Regions from separate parts of the Homo sapiens genome. Here region 1 is linked to region 2. The links are contacts of gene promoters, found by promoter capture Hi-C in blood cells and fetal thymus (Javierre and others, 2016). All regions are on one chromosome and are shown on one strand. The core of a region is centred on a gene start or on the middle of the fragment in contact, and the rest is flanking DNA. Distances in the headings are between cores, read along the strand shown.

The links. The method cuts DNA at HindIII sites, captures the fragments that hold promoters and counts their contacts. A CHiCAGO score of 5 or more calls a contact.
Region 1: the fragment with the promoter of NLRC3 here is called in contact with the fragment with the promoter of SRL in region 2 in 1 of 17 cell types (naive CD8 T cells); the score reaches 5.7 in naive CD8 T cells.

What each region holds. Positions count from the first base shown.
Region 1 is chr16:3,575,909-3,578,670 of GRCh38, forward strand. It overlaps NLRC3 (NLR family CARD domain containing 3), which reads right to left and starts at 1,495. Exons shown (of 20, transcript NM_178844.4): 1 at 1,241-1,495. It overlaps LOC105371060 (a long non-coding RNA gene), which reads left to right and starts at 1,595. Exons shown (of 2, transcript XR_001752061.3): 1 at 1,595-2,762. RefSeq lists enhancers at 2,579-2,628, 2,659-2,762. The HindIII fragment of the contact is 15,514 bases long and covers 1-2,762 here.
Region 2 is chr16:4,240,756-4,243,455 of GRCh38, forward strand. It overlaps SRL (sarcalumenin), which reads right to left and starts at 1,325. Exons shown (of 6, transcript NM_001098814.2): 1 at 1,252-1,325. The coding sequence starts at 1,312. The HindIII fragment of the contact is 10,843 bases long and covers 1-2,700 here.

The sequences.
Region 1 (2,762 bases), core at 245-2,744, 660 kb before region 2:
TCCCAGGGCCTTGGAATTCAGGACTCGGTTCTCTCGAGGTGGCCCCAGCATCATCACTTGAGCTCAAAAGCCTTCCCGAAGGAAGAAGGAAGTGGCACCTGCACCTCAGGGCCCTACCCTGCTCACTGCATGGACCCCTGGAGTCCAAGGGGTGGAGAGGCCCAGCCCTGGGGAGCCCAGCACCCTGGGACAGAAGAAGAGGGGTGCAGCCTGCAGCCTGTGATGGCCAACAGTGAGCCCCAGGCTCAGGGTCACCTCCAGGGAGGGGTCCAGAAAAACACCAGGGCCTCTGGAGCCTGGCCATAGGGGAAGACCCTGCAGCCAACACCCAGGCTGGCCCAGGGCAGTGGCACTTCTTCCGAGAAGGCCTCTGCGGTTGCCGTCTCTCTCGACCCTTGTCTCACCCAAGGCTGTGGGCAGGAGAGGCCCTGGGGCTGCCCACTCGCCTGGGGGCGGCGCCTGCACCCTCCCTGCCCCTCATGACCTCGCCCCTCCTGTGCTGTCACCTCCATCTACAGGTGGGGTGCTGAGGCCCAGAGAAGTAGCCTCCCATGGGGGGTCCCAGTGCCAGGAAGGGTGCCCAGGTCTGCCGATTCCCCAGGCCGTGGCTCAGCATCACCACTGCCTGCCCGCAGCACCTTCAAGATGCTTCCTGCTTCTCCTGGGCCATCACTGGTACCTGGGGGAGCTGGGTTTTGTCCCTGGGACCTGTCCTGGGCCATTCTTAGTTACCTGTTTTTTCTTTTCTTTTTTGTTTTGTTTTGTTTTGTTTTGGAGACAGTCTCGCTTTGTCACCCAGGATTGAGTGCAGTGGCTCGATCTCGGCTCACTGCAACCTACGCCTCCCGGGTTCAAGCGGTTCTCCTGCCTCAGCCTCCCGACTAGCTGGGTGGGATTACAGGCGTCTGCCAACATGCCTGGCTAATTTATTTTTTATTTTTAGTAGAGATGGGGTTTCACCATGTTGGCCAGGCTAGTCTCAAAGTCCTGACCTCAAGTGATCCGCCCACCTTGGCCTCCCAAAGTGTTGGGATTACAGGCGTGAGCCACCGTGCCTGGCCACATCTCTTTTTTCTACAGCATGAGCCAGTCCTGCCCCAGGAGACAGCTTCTTGGAGTCTCGTGGAGTCTCCCCAGTCCCCCTCCCCAGAGTAGCTCAGGCCTTAAGGCCACTGTCCTTCCTGCCAGCATCCCTTCTCCCTCCCCTGCCCTGCACTGAGGTCACCTGGACCCAACTTACCTCCCGGGCCTCGATGCTGCTCCAGGGACAGCAAGACTGGGGGGCCTGGGGGCGTCCATCTCCATGCTCCTGGGCTCAGCCCTGCTCCAGCTGCGTGGTGGTAGATGCCCTGGGAATCCCTGTGCCAGCCTGAGTTCTCAGGACCAGGGATCAGGGCACTTACCACGCCAACCAACCAACCGTGTGGGGGCCGAGAGCAGTGCAGCCCCGACCTTCTGCAGCCCCACCGAGCCCACCGGCTGTCCCTGTGGCTCCGGGTCCTCACCTCTTCCTGTGCTGGGCTCCACCTCATTCTTCCTTCCTGTCTGATTTCAACAGCCAACAGCCTCGCAGACACATCGAGGAGCCGGGGCACCCTGGCTTGGTCACCGCCCCCGTGCAAGTTAAGTGCGGGGGCGATGCTGGGGGTCTTGACTCTGGGATTAAGTGTCCCTGCAGGTGGCATGCTCAGGATAAAGTGGCTGGTGCCAAGGCTGTTGACACATCACCTCCATCCCGCCACAAAGGAAGCTGCCCCGCCATCAACAAATGCTTGTTTTCAGGCGGGTGGTCAGGAAATCAAGTGAGCAGCCTGAGGTCACGCAACTAGAGGGTGACCCCAGCAGGACTGGACTGTGCCCTGCCACCTCCAGGCCACCCCTGTGGCTCTCCTTATTTATTTATTTAATTTATTTATTTGAGACAGAGTCTCGCTCTGTTGCCCAGGCTGGAGTGCAATGGCACGATCTCGGCTCACTGCAACCTCCCCCTCCCAGGTTCAAGAGATTCTCCTGCCTCAGCCTCCTGAGTAGCTGGGATTACGGGCATGCGCCACCATGCCCCGCTAATTTTTGTATTTTTAGCAGAGGAGGGGCTTTGCCATGTTGGCCAGGCTGGTCTTGAACGCCTGACCTCAGGTGATCCACCCACCTTGGCTTCCCAAAGGGGTGGGATTACAGGCGTGAGCCACTGCGCCCAGCCTATTTATTTTTTGAGACAGGATCTTGCTCTGTCACCCAGACTGGAGTGCAGTGGTGTGATCTCGGCTCACTGTAGCCTCTACCTCCTGGGGCTCAAGTGATCCTCCTGCCTTGGCCTCCCAAAACACGGAGATAACAGGTGTGAGCCACTGTGCTCCCTCTTTTAACACCTCTTGCTTTCTTTTCTCTCTGTCACCCAGTAGGCACCTCTGACTCAGCTGTGCCCCATAACATCTTCCTGTGAGCAAAGGGCTCCCCAGAGGCAGGTCACCTGTACCCTAAGAGGAAACAGCAGAATGTTGCCGTCCGCGGCAGGAGATCGCACTCGGCCCCTGGAAGTGGACCTCAGTGGGTGGCCTGCCCTGACAGGGAAGGGCGTGAGGGGGAAGGACATGGCCCAGAGCAAGCCACATGAGAAAAATTACAATAAAGTATGGGACATCCGCTGGGGACAGGGAGCAAGCAACATGGGGCCACTGAGGGAAGGAGGTGACAAGGTGGGAGCCAAGGGACAGGGGTCCTGGGGTCTGAATTTTCCTCAGCAAGCAAGTGGGAGCCAGCAA
Region 2 (2,700 bases), core at 75-2,574:
AGGAGCGGCCACGAAGGGAGAGGGTGGCAGCGGCTTGGGGCTCCGGATCCAATTACGCGGCTGTTTCCATACTTAGCCGCCTGACAGCCGCCTGGAATACTCAGCACTCAAGCCGCTGCAGCCCTGCAGAGCCCAAATTAACTCAAGGACAGACAAGGGCAGGGCCCAGCAGCACATGCAGTGGCTGGAGCCCCCCACCTTACATCTTGAGTCCCCGAGAAATAGCTTTTGTTCCCACCCACTGCCTGCTCTCCCTGCAGGGACTGTGCCCCTGCAACCCCCTATTCAACCTCAAAGACCTGAGAGGCTGGACTCTGGGCCTCTCCAGTCCCAGGTACGGACCTAGGCTCAGAGCCCAGCTTGGGGGAAGACTGCCGAGTCATGAAAAGACTCGGTGGGCAGTCCGGATCCTAGGGGGATCCCCGGAGCACCTCCCTAAAAGCATTCCCTCGGGGAACCTGGCCTCAGGAACCTTAGGAACAAGAGAGGTGGCAAAACAATCTGGCATCTCCTCCATAGCCTATAGATAACCCCCATGCTGCAACCCAAGCCACCACCTCTGCTACCCAAAGTGCTGAGATGTCAAAGGGAAGCCTCAGCACACAGAGCCAAGCCCCTTTTCTGATGGAAGCCCCCACCCCGAGCAGAGGCTCTACTCCAGAACGGGCCCCGTTCCTCTTCTGAATTGCATCCAATGCTGTTTCCAGCCCAACCGCCAACTCTATTTCCGATCTTATCCCAAACCAATTCCAATTCTATCTCACTGCTCCCAAAACGGTCCCCACCTTTGCCCACTGTATCCCCTTCTGTCCACGCAAACCCAGTTCTCTTACCCGAGTGGGGCCTCCGCCTTATATCCCACCAGGTGGGAGGGTCACCTCAACGACCTCCAGCTCCCAGACTGTGCTATTTTGTCCGTCTCAGAGGCTCCCCCGTCTCGACTTTGAGGGCCCTCTTTCCCACATCTACTGGCCAGACTCCTCTCTGACCCTGGCTCACAGCTCAGCTCTGTTTGCCGTTCCCACTTCCTCTGGCCTTCCTGAGGGCCCCGCAACTGTGCTGCTATTCTCCAGCACCCAGCTCTTTCTCTGAGGCCCCAGGCCCGGGGAAAAGAGAAGGGTAAGAAGACACCAGCCAAGAGCCAGGGTTTGCCATCAGCCCCGACCCCCTACCCAACCCATGGTAGACAGAAAACCTTGGAGGAAGCGTGGGGGACCAGTCTGGGCTGGGTCATGCTGGGAGGGGCCCTACCTGCTTGTCCTGAGAACAGGAGCGAGGCCAGGAGGCAGCCGAGCAGGACCAGCGCCCTCATGGTGACTGCCAAGAGAGCCCAGCTGCTCCTCGCCTCTATTTATACGGCCGGCCGTGGCAGCAGGCGGTGGAGGGGGGAGAGGGGTCACACAGTCACCAGGGCAACTAGGAGGGTGTGATGGGGAAGAAGCCCGGACCCCAGAAGGCTGTGCAGAGGCTCAGGCTGCGCCACTGCTGTCCCAGCTGCCAGGCCCCAGAAGGCAGGGCCGTGGCTGGATTCTCTTCCCCCGAACCCCTGCAGCCCTGGGATCACATGACATGGGTCACAGGGCGTGGGTGACAGGCATAAAATGGAGCATCCCTTGGGCTCAGGCGGTGGAGCTGGGAAGCTGAGTCTTCCCAGAACTTGCAATAACTTGACCTGAAGTCTCGGCAGGTTAAGGACCTTGACACGCCTGCACTGGAAGGAGGAAGTTGTAAGGCCACGCAAAAGAAATCCTATTTAACAGCCACTGATCCACATGCTAGAGAGTGGTCAGCTACGGCAAACCCGCAACATGTGACCTCTGAGGTCCAAGGCTGCAGCCCTGGAACAACCTTCCCAGCCTCTGGAAGAGAGAGAGCACAGACCAGAGGGAGAGGGGCACACTGAGACACAAGCTGAGGCTACGGTGTAAACTGGAGGATGGAGCAACAGATATCCATTTCCAATGGCCCAGGGGTTCCAGAACATTCAGTCACCTCTGCAAAGTGCTTTTTTGTTTATTTGTTTTTGATAGAGGATCTCGCTCTGTCACCCAGGCTGGACTGCAGTGGCACAATCATCACTCACTGCACTCGACCTCCCAGGCTCAATCAATCCTCCCAACTCAGCCTCCCAAGTAGCTAGGACAGTAGTGCCACCATGCTGTACTAATTTTTTAAAATTTTTTGTAGATGGCCCAGAGAGCCAGTTGTAAGAAGCCAAGGGAAAGCAGACACTTGCTTGTCTGGTCGGGGTACAGTGTCACTGTGTGGGGAAGAGGTAGAAGCCAGCCTTGGAGGAAAGGAACTAAATCAGGGCCAGGCACAGTGGCTCACACCTGTAATCCCAGCACTTTGGGAGGCCGAGGCGGGTGGATCACCTGAGGTCAGGAGATTGAGACCAGCCTGGCCAACATGGTGAAACCCCATCTCCACTAAAAATACAAAAATTACTGGGTGTGGTGGCGGGTGCCTATAATCCCAGCTCCTCAGGAGGCTGAGGCAGGAGAATCACTTGATCCCAGGAGGCGAAGGTTGCCATGAGCCAAGATTGCACCACTGACTCTAGCCTGGGCAACAGAGCGAGACTCTGTCTCAAAAAAAAAAAAAAAAAAAAAAAGAATTAGGCATCTGGTAGGCACTTGACTTTTTTTTTTTTTTTAATCTTTTTTAAGAGACAGGGTCTCTGTCACCCTGGCTGGAGTA